Linked DNA regions of Homo sapiens: region 2 is linked to region 1. Evidence: promoter capture Hi-C in 16 types of primary human blood cells and fetal thymus (Javierre and others, 2016). All regions are on one chromosome and are shown on one strand. The core of a region is centred on a gene start or on the middle of the fragment in contact, and the rest is flanking DNA. Distances in the headings are between cores, read along the strand shown.

Region 1 (4,678 bases), core at 1,148-3,647:
ACCCGGAGCTCGGCGCCCCGTCCCCCTGTCCAGCCCCGAGGCCTCCCGCTACGCCCCCCACACTCACTTGAGGTGGTCCAAGGAGTGGATGTTGCGGGAAGTCTTGCCATGGCCCCCGCCCACCCAGCTCCGCGAGCGGCCAAACATGTCGGCGGCCCCGACCCGTCTCTCGTCTCACGGTCTCATGCCGGACCAGCAGAGCGGCCCAGCGCCCGCGGCGGTAGCACAAGCGGAGGATGCGGCGGCGGAGGCGGTGGAGGAACCGCGAGCCGCCTTCCTCCCCGGCCCACAGCCCAGCACTGACATTCAGCCGGAACCGGCCGTTCGACCGCCGCGCTTTACGGCCGCCGCCGCGTGGGGCGCTGGGAAATGCAGTTCACCCGCGTGGCCTTCGGCGGCAGGACTCCGCGAACGGACTACAAGGCCCGGCATGCATCGTGCAACCGCGGGCCTACGGCCATCCACAAAAGGCGGGGCGAGAGGAGGAGCGACCGCAGAATCCTCCGGGTGGGCGGGAATTGGAAGCTTTGGGCGCAGTCCCGGAGAGGGAATCGGCGTAGATGGGTCAAGGAAAGTCACCACTGTAGTAACAATTACTAGATTTATAATAAGAATAAGAATAGTATTGGATGGTGTATACTATGCAAAGCCACTATCCTAAGGGCTTTACATATTAAGGTATTTAATTTTCACAACCATCCTATGAATTGGGTACTATTATCGAACCTATTTTATCATCAGGGAAACGGAGTCACTGAGAGGTTGACTTACCCAAGATCATGCAGTTAACAAGTGGCAAAACCAGGGTTCATAACCACGCACGCACCCTTATTTTTCATTCCCTTTATAAACCAAAACGGCACTAGATAACAACCTTATTTGTCCTGACAGCCTTTTTCTTTTTCCACTTCAATTAAGTGTGTGTGTGTGTGTGTGTGTGTGTGTGTGTGTGTGTGTGTGTGTGTGTGTGTGTTGGAAAAGGCTGGATGCAACAATGCACCAAACTGAACATTTTGTACTTCCAGAGGATTCCTCTGGTCTTCAGCCAGAATCCATGCTATTTCCCAAAGTACCACGTTAAAATGAAAAAGGAAACACCCAACTTTCTGCATGAGCCAGAATATATCTAACTTCTACCCTGGATTAGAAGTGGTAAGTTCAGTGTGGGCAAGACTTCTCAAGTTTACCATCCATTCATTCATTCAGTCACTTCTACATATCAACCTTATTAAAGGTCCACTGTGTCCCATTAACTCTGCTCAAGAAAGAACTGGGCCAGAGGCCAATGTTCTCCCCAGTGCCTAGCACAAGGTTTGGCACATAGCAGGTGTTTAACAAATATTGGTAGAGTGCATGAATGAGTAAAGGTTTGTTTCACCTTCAGCAGTTGGAGAAATGGATAAGAGTGGAGAGTTAATGGTTTGTCCTGTAATTCATATAGAGTGGGGCAAGACAAAGTCATGGAGCAAAAAAGAACAGGATCTGGCCTCCAAAGAAACACACCCAGGCTCAGAAATGTAGGATCCCTGGGCTCGTATTTTTCATCTGTAAAAAGTACGCACATACATACTACACTGCCTTGTATACCTCCGATTAAGCGATGCATGTAAAATACTCAGCTCAGTGTGGCCTGAGATTTAAAGGTTTCTTGAACTGCTTTGGAAGGCTCTTTGGGCGAGATCATGTTTTCCTGAAAGACATGCAACGGTTACCCAAGAGCAGGGGAACCAGTGGGTGGGAGAGACTCACTTTTCTGTGTACTTCACGGTTGTTTGAATGTTTAGCCATGTGTATTATTGCTTTTAAACATGATTCACAAAGTAAAAAGAAACAAAAAGCATCCTTATGGTTGAAGATCTGAACTACCTCGGAATCTCTTTATTCAGGTGTTCCTTAACTCTAGGATGCAGGTTCCGTAGTGGGCGGACCTTCCAGCAACCAGAGTTTGGAGAAGCGAAGGGGACACTGGTGGATCTCCACCATGAAAATTGGCGCTTTGGGAATGTCCAAAATTTCCAGGGCAACCGTCCGTCGCCCCTCCCCGACCCCGCCTCCTTTTAAAGGAGAAACGGAGTCCCAAAGAGGCATGCAGCAAGGTGCAGCGGTAGCCCGGGTTTCCTTCGGCTTTTGCGGCCTTAGCATTATGTCTAGGTTTGAACTGTGTTCAGTCTCTTTTACCTCCCCCTATTCGATACGCAGAGCGAATTCGATTTGAGATCTGAGGGCAGACCCGAACCAGGAAAGCAACTCAGACGCTAGGGCCCCGAGGGGCGGAGCGAAGCGGTACCCGCCCCCTGGCGGCCGGAGCCAATCAGCGCGGGCGTTGAGCCGGCCAATTAGCGCGTGCAGGGGGCGGCCTGCCAATGAGCTCGGGGCCCCTCGGGAGGCGGAGCTCCGAGCGCCACCGGGAGGGCTACGCGGCGGCCGCAGCCATGGGTGCTGGGCCTGCGGGGGCGCGGGGGGTGCGCGAGGACCTGCGGGGCGGGGCGGGAGAGAAGGCTGCCGGGACCGGCCCTAGACACTGAGCCGCGGTGGGATCCCCACCGGCTCTGCGAGGCCCTGCGAGCGCCAGGGAGGCGCCACGAGGGAGCCGGGCAGCCGCGGGCCACTTCAGGGGGGCCCGCCTCGCCGCCCGGGCGGTCGAGAGATCCTTGGGGGCACATCTCGGGGTGCGGTGACCCGCCCGGCGCATTTCGGGGGTCGGGGCGCAATTGCCAGGGGACATCTGGAGCCCGGCCCTGCTTCTGTCGGGCTCCAGGGTACCCCTGGATGGCTGCGCTGTGCCCTCGCCGGCCGCCCGGGCGCCGCAGCGGCTGAGTTCGCCGGGATCGCCGGGCCGCCGCCCTTGCCACCCGCTGCATGCTCGGCGCCCGGGTCGCGGCCCACCTGGACGCACTGGGCCCCCTGGTCCCCTACGTGCCGCCGCCGCTGCTGCCCTCTATGTTCTACGTGGGCCTGTTCTTCGTCAATGTGCTGATCCTGTACTACGCCTTCCTCATGGAGTACATCGTCCTCAACGTGGGCCTCGTCTTCCTGCCCGAGGACATGGACCAGGCGCTCGTGGACCTCGGCGTGCTCTCCGACCCCGGCTCGGGCCTTTACGATGCTGACTCGGAGCTCGACGTCTTTGATGCGTACTTGGAGTAGGGTCTCGACTGCTGTTCCCCTCTTCCCTACACGATCCGCAACCCATGCCCTGGACCAGCCGCCCAGATCATGCCGCCGCAGCTGGTTGGGGGCACCATCTGGACGGGGATGGTTCCCCAGGAGGAGACCCTCCCCTGCCTCCGAGGCCTGTAAGTGCCCTCTCTGAACAGGATGAGGGCGGGTTGGGGCGCTAGCAAGGGAGAGGGAGGAATTCCCAGGCCGGATACACACCCCTCCCTCAGGCTTCTCCTCCGTTCACCTCCTCCAGGTCTAACTGGATGCCAGGAATGGCCAGACTCCTCTTAAGCCCTTCGTTTGGGCTGGAAAGCTTCCTCCAGCAAAGGGGACAGCTGGTGAAAAGGAAGGAGACCCCGAGACTAAGTTACATTTGGGGTAGCTCTGTGACTTACCCCCAAAGCTTATGGAAAAAGCCTTCGCTCCCAAATCCATTTGAGGCAGAGCTGTCAGCTCCTCCTCCAGTCCTCATCCTGGCTTGATGATGACCTTGGCTTTTGGGGGATTCTCGCTTGTCCTAGAAGGATAAAGATTTAGGGGTGTCAGAAGACACAGGGAGCCAGGCACGAATCACCTTTGTACTGTGGCCCTTGGGGTAGCTGGGTGGGGATTAAGTGCAGGGGCTCTAGGCCAAAGCTGTGAGAGGAGAAATCGCAAGCAAAGAAGCCCGTACTTCCTTTTGGCCTTGGGTTTGCTGCTATTTTGGAGTCAGGTTTCAGGGTGCCCCAGCTCATCAGTTCTGCAGCTCAGAACTGCAGGGGCTGCCAGTTTTGTAGGCTCCCTTCACAGAACAGGCAGGCAGGGAGCTGGTGCCAGGGCTCGCTTTGTCTGCAGTGTTTGCAAGCGCTCAGGGGGCTCTTAGGTCCTCGGGAGAAGGCACCACAGGGTCATTGCACTGAGATGGTCAAGTCCTGTCTTTGGGGCTGTGACGAGGGAGCTTTGCATCCAGCATCCAGCCCACTGTGTATGTGAGAGGTAGGGAAATGAAGGTCCAGGAAGGAGTAAGACTTGGTCATAGTCACAAGGAAGAGAGGCAGCTAGACTCAATTAGAGAGAACACGTGAGCCAGACAAGCTGTCAGGCAGCTGCCAGGTCTGGTGAGGGTCACAGGGCAGGCAGGAACGCCTTGGCTCAGCCCCTGAGACTGGACAGTACTGGAGTGTCACTGGGCACAGGGTCTAAGTGGCAATGAAGAGGGGATGCTGAGATATGGTGGGCAAGGGCTCCTTTAGGAAAATGGACACTAATGCCATTCACCGCAAGCAGGCTGAGTCCACCCCTCTCCTGCATTACCTGGCTTTGCCAAGACAACCACAGGCAGAGGGTGTCTTAGTTCAGTCTGCTATAACAGAACACCATAGGCTGGGGGACTTAAACATTTATCTCTTACTGTTCTTATAAGGGCATTAATCCCACCCATGAAGGCTCTGCCTTCGTGACCTAATCACCTCCCTAAGGCCGCACCCCGCAATACCATCATTTGGGATCAGAGTTTCAACATATGAAGTTTGAGGAG
Region 2 (4,735 bases), core at 1,910-4,409, 4.7 Mb before region 1:
CATTTGTGTCTTTTGGACTTCTCTGAGCGGTAAATATTCTTCTCTTTTGCATATCGGTGTATTGAAACCTAAACTGTTTTCCTATTTATTAAGCTTTATTCGTTCAACAGTTATTTATTAAAATATGCCAGGCATTGTACTAAGGACAGGAGTTGGAATAGTGGATAAGAAAACATAGTCTCTGCTGTCATGGAGTTTATAGCCTAATGGGGGAGAAAGATAATAAAATAAGCTAAAAAGGCCGTTTTGGACAGAAGAGCTATGGGGGAGAAAACGGTAATGGGATGGGGTGGTGTGGGGTCAAAGACTAGATTGGGTGCTAAGGAAACAACATTTGCTAAATGTTCCCCGTGGATTACCTCATGTAATCCAAACAACGGCCTTGTAAGGTGGTTTCTATTATTATCACACCCATTTTAGAGATGGGATCTGAGGTTCAGAGAGGTTGTGAGTTGTCCAAAGCTGCACCGCAGTCAAATTGGAGACCAAAATGCAGACAGTCGACAGAGCCTATGCTCTCCTCATTGAATTGGTCAAAAGACTTGAAGAGAGTGACAGAAAGGAGACTGTCGCTCAAGTCAAACAGAACCTGCTTTTGGCTACCTAAGTTGCTTCGTGGATGGTATTTGGGAAGTTTTCAGGGTGCAGGCACCTGAAAGTTTTTACTTTTAATCGCTTGTATTGAGCAGTATTGAAGGCACCTTGATGTAGTGGAAAGGGGTGAACAAGCCTAATCTTGTGTCAGGCTCGCTACAAAACTTCATTAAGTTTCTTTTTCTCTCTCTGCAAAAATGTAGCTAATTTCTCCCCTGTCTATTTCACAGGATTATTGCAAAAATTATATAAGAGGATCCCACCGTCTGGGTTTTTTTCATCATTATATTCCTTGTGCCAAGCACAGGCCTGCTGCATAGTAGATACTAAGTAAATATTTGCTGAATGAAGACATAAGTAATGTTAAGTGAAAATACTTTATAAACTAGATTATACTGTGAATGTTAGCTCACTTTCAGGATTTGGCTTTGAAGAAGTTTGAGAGAATGTTTAAGTTATGAACACTGTGAATATCACAGATTCTTACGATTTTGAGAGGAGTTTTTTGGGGGACATAAAACCTGTATCTAATAGGAAAGACAAGAATCGTAATTTACTATCAGTGGTAGCAGTTAAATCCATCTCCAAATTAACCACTCCCAATAGTGTGTAGTAGGTAATGTTTACTTTGTATTTACAGAGTAGGGAGCATTTTGGTTGGCACAAGAGATACAGTGGTGAAAATAGACAGTGGGGTTCATTTATCTAATTTTTTTTTTCTCTGTAATGCAGTGGCGGGGAGAAATTAGCCACATTTTGCATAGGAGGAAACAGAAACTTGAAAACAAAAATTTTTTTAGAGATGGAATCTCACTCTGTTGCCCACGCTGAAGGGCCAGTGGCACAATATAGTTCACTGTAGCCTCAAATTCTTGGGCTCAAGAGATCCTCCTACCTCAGTCTCTCTAGTAGCTGGGACTAGGCGCATGCTGCCACACTATGCTAATTTTTTGAACTTTATTTTATTTTAGAGCTGTGATCTTGCTATATTGCCCAGGCTGACAAAAGAGCCACGTAGTAAATATAGGCTTTGTGGGCCATACAGTCTCTTTGCAGAGACTCTCTTTGCAACTCTGCAATTGGAATGCAAAAGCAGTCATAGGCAGTATTTAAGTGAATGAGTGTGTCTGTGTCCCAATTAAACTTTATTTATGGACACTGACATTTTAATTTCATGTAATTTTGTTTGTTGGTTTTTGAGACAGGGTCTCACTCCGTCGCCCAGGCTGCAGTGCAGTGGTGCAATCACAGCTCACTGCAGCCTTGACTACGCAGTCTTAGGTGATTCTTCCACCATAGCCTCCTGAGTAGATGGGGCTACAGGCATGCACCACCACGCTCAGCTAATTTTTTGTAGCCATGGGGTTTTGCCATGTTGCCCAGGCTGGTTGGGAACTCCTGGGCTCAAGCAATCCACCCACCTTGGCCTCCCAAAGTGCTGGGATTGCAGGCCTGAGCCACGGTGCCTCGCTTGCATTTATTGTTAAGACCTGTAAGAGTGTTGTTGCTCTGGCGTAGATATAACACATCTGCGACTTGAGATTTTTCTATCAGTTAGATTTTTGGTGGTATATCAGATTGCACTTTCATCATTAGTAAACTAAGAAATTGGTTCAATTTGTTCTGTAGCAAATCAAATTCAAAGTCCACAGAGGCCACTTAGTTTGGACTTTTCATGCTCAGATCAAGAAACCAGTGCAAGAAGTTGCTCTTAAGTCAATTTTAAAATCTTACATATAGTTGTCAATGAGGATGTGGTGGTGGCTCTTTTACTCAGATTAGATGCTCTCTTCTGTTAACTTTTGACTTTCCTGAGCAGCATCTTTAGGGAGAGAGAGCCGAAAAGAATTCAGAAAAACTGTAGAAAAAATTGATTCCAGCCAAGTGAGGAGGTGAAGTCTCACTCTGGAATATGCAAGTTTCCAAGATATGGCTACCTCTCTCAAACATGGTTACATGTGGAAAGGAAACAAGACTCATGGAGAGTTCATTTTTTATTTGAAGAGCTATGAAACATGAAGAATGGCAGATTATAGATTTTTTAAGAAATCAGGTTGTTGCAGTTAGATTTTAAGCATAAACAGTCAACCAAGTTTACCAAATTTTATTAACCCGTAATATGCTCTGATATTTTGTGTTTTTTTCTTTCTTTATTTTATTATTATTATTTTGTTTGTTAAGATTTGAATTGTTGGCCGGGCGCAGTGGCTAATGCCTGTAATCCCAGCACTTTGGGAGGCCGAGGAGGGTGGATCACTTGAGGTCAGGAGTTCAAGACCAGCCTGGCCAACTTGGTGAAACCCCATCTCTACTAAAAATATAAAAATTAGCCAGGCATAGTGACAGGCTCCTGTAGTCCCAGCTACTCTGGAGGCTGAGGCAGAAAAATCGCTTGAACCCGGGAGACGGAGGTTGCAGTGAGCTGAGATCGTACCACTGCATGCCAGCCTGGGCGACAGAGCGAGACTTCCTCTTGAAACAAAGATTTGAATTGTTGAGAGCCATAGGACTGTAAATATAGCTGTGGTTTCACATTTTAGTATGTTGTAAAATTTGTACTTATGCAAGGAAATAACACTGAAATCTTACTCATTCTTAACAGGGTGGAAGAATGAAAGAAAAGAAAGATGAAAGGATGTTGAATCACTTTGCATGGCTGTATGATGGAAGGAAACGGAACTGAGAACTCCTGCAGTAGAACACGTGGATGGCTTCAACAAGATAATGATGCTAAGCCATGGCTTTGGAAATTCTCTAATTGCTTTTCTCGTCCTGAGCAGACGCTGCCACATAGTCCCCAAACGGTAACTATATGCAAGACTAAGGATGTAGCAGATTCCTCATCCAAATAGATGAGAGAGGTCCATTTGGTCTGGGATACAGTCTCTCATCCTAGAGTCTGTGCCACATTTTTCTGTAGATCTTGCCTGTATTGCCTCTTATACCACATTATAATGTGAGAGCACAGCACAATTTTTTAACTCTTCTATTTCACTTTGAGTAACAGTAGATGCCTTGAATATTTAATGTTAAAATTTGGGAAAGATTTCTTCCTCATTAAAGTCACAGGTAACAAAGATTAAAAATCCACATTGTGGAGTAAAATCAGAGGAAAATACAAAATATGTTGTATTTTACTGTAGCCCTCTTGAGTTTTGAGTCTATAATCTAGGAAGGGTTGGGAAGAGCTTATCCACTGCCTGTTTTTTATTTCGAGATTTCTCTTGAATATTTACTTCTCAGTATACATTTATGTCTCTAACTTCTTGCTTACTCATTGTGATTTTGACATTTTCTTTTTTTTTTTTGAGGTGCAGTCTTGCTCTGTGGCCCAGGCTGGAGTGCAGTGGTGCGATCTCGGCTCATTGCAACCTCTGCCTCCCAGGTTTAAGCAGTTCTCCTGCCTCAGCCTCCTCAGTAGCTGGGATTACAGGCCTGTGCTGCCATGCCTGGCTAATTTTTGTATTTTTAGTGGAGACGAGGTTTCGCCATGTTGGCCAGGCTGGTCTTGACCTCCTGACCTCAAGTGATCCTCCCGCCTCAGCCTCCCAAAGTGCTGGGATTACAGGCGTGAGCCACCGCGTCCAGCCAATTTTGACATTTCCTGACTTCATGCACTCATGTTACCACCTTTCTATTTCTTATTTTCTATTGTATGTGGGATTCAAGTGAGACTGTAATATAATTTTATATAAGGGTATTAACAACTTTTATTTGATTTTATTTTTTGAGACAGAGTCTCGGCTCAGCCCCCTAGGCTGGAGTGCAGTGGCACGATCCGGGTTCACTGCAACCACTGTCCCTAGTTCAAGGGATTCTCCCGTCTCAGCCTCCCTAGTAGCTGGGTTTACAGGCACTCGCCATTATGCCTGGCTAATTTTTGTATTTTAGTAGAGATGGGGTTTCACCGTGTTGGCCAGGCTGGTCTTGAACTTCTGACCTTAGGTGATCCACCCGCCTCGGCCTCCCAAGTGCTAGGATTACAGGCGTGAGCCACCGCGCCTGGCCGGGTATTAATAACTTTTTAAAAACCAGTTTAATTCTCTATTTTCTCTAGGTTTTCACTATATAGTTGTCTTTGTTGCAAGACATCAAGTAATTTGGGTCATTTTAGGAGTGTTTTATTTTAGAGACAGTTGAC

Evidence for each region. The method cuts DNA at HindIII sites, captures the fragments that hold promoters and counts their contacts. A CHiCAGO score of 5 or more calls a contact.
Region 2: a contact is called between a fragment that was not itself captured here and the fragment with the promoter of DEXI in region 1, in 4 of 17 cell types (fetal thymus, non-activated CD4 T cells, activated CD4 T cells and 1 more). The highest score is 16.9, in fetal thymus.

The regions. Positions count from the first base shown.
Region 1 is chr16:10,940,187-10,944,864 of GRCh38, reverse strand. DEXI (Dexi homolog) reads left to right here and starts at 2,397. Exons shown (of 2, transcript NM_014015.4): 1 at 2,397-3,296. The coding sequence starts at 2,860. The coding sequence ends at 3,147. It overlaps CLEC16A (C-type lectin domain containing 16A), which reads right to left and starts at 301. Exons shown (of 24, transcript NM_015226.3): 1 at 68-301. The coding sequence starts at 147. It also overlaps a transcript of CIITA not described here. RefSeq lists enhancers at 229-288, 509-688 and a silencer at 2,258-2,807. The HindIII fragment of the contact is 2,950 bases long and covers 528-3,477 here.
Region 2 is chr16:15,637,753-15,642,487 of GRCh38, reverse strand. It overlaps MARF1 (meiosis regulator and mRNA stability factor 1), which reads left to right. Exons shown (of 27, transcript NM_014647.4): 2 at 3,197-3,398. The coding sequence starts at 3,255. Among named protein-coding and RNA genes, the nearest start is that of MARF1, 3.0 kb to the left of the region's middle. The HindIII fragment of the contact is 6,127 bases long and covers 96-4,735 here.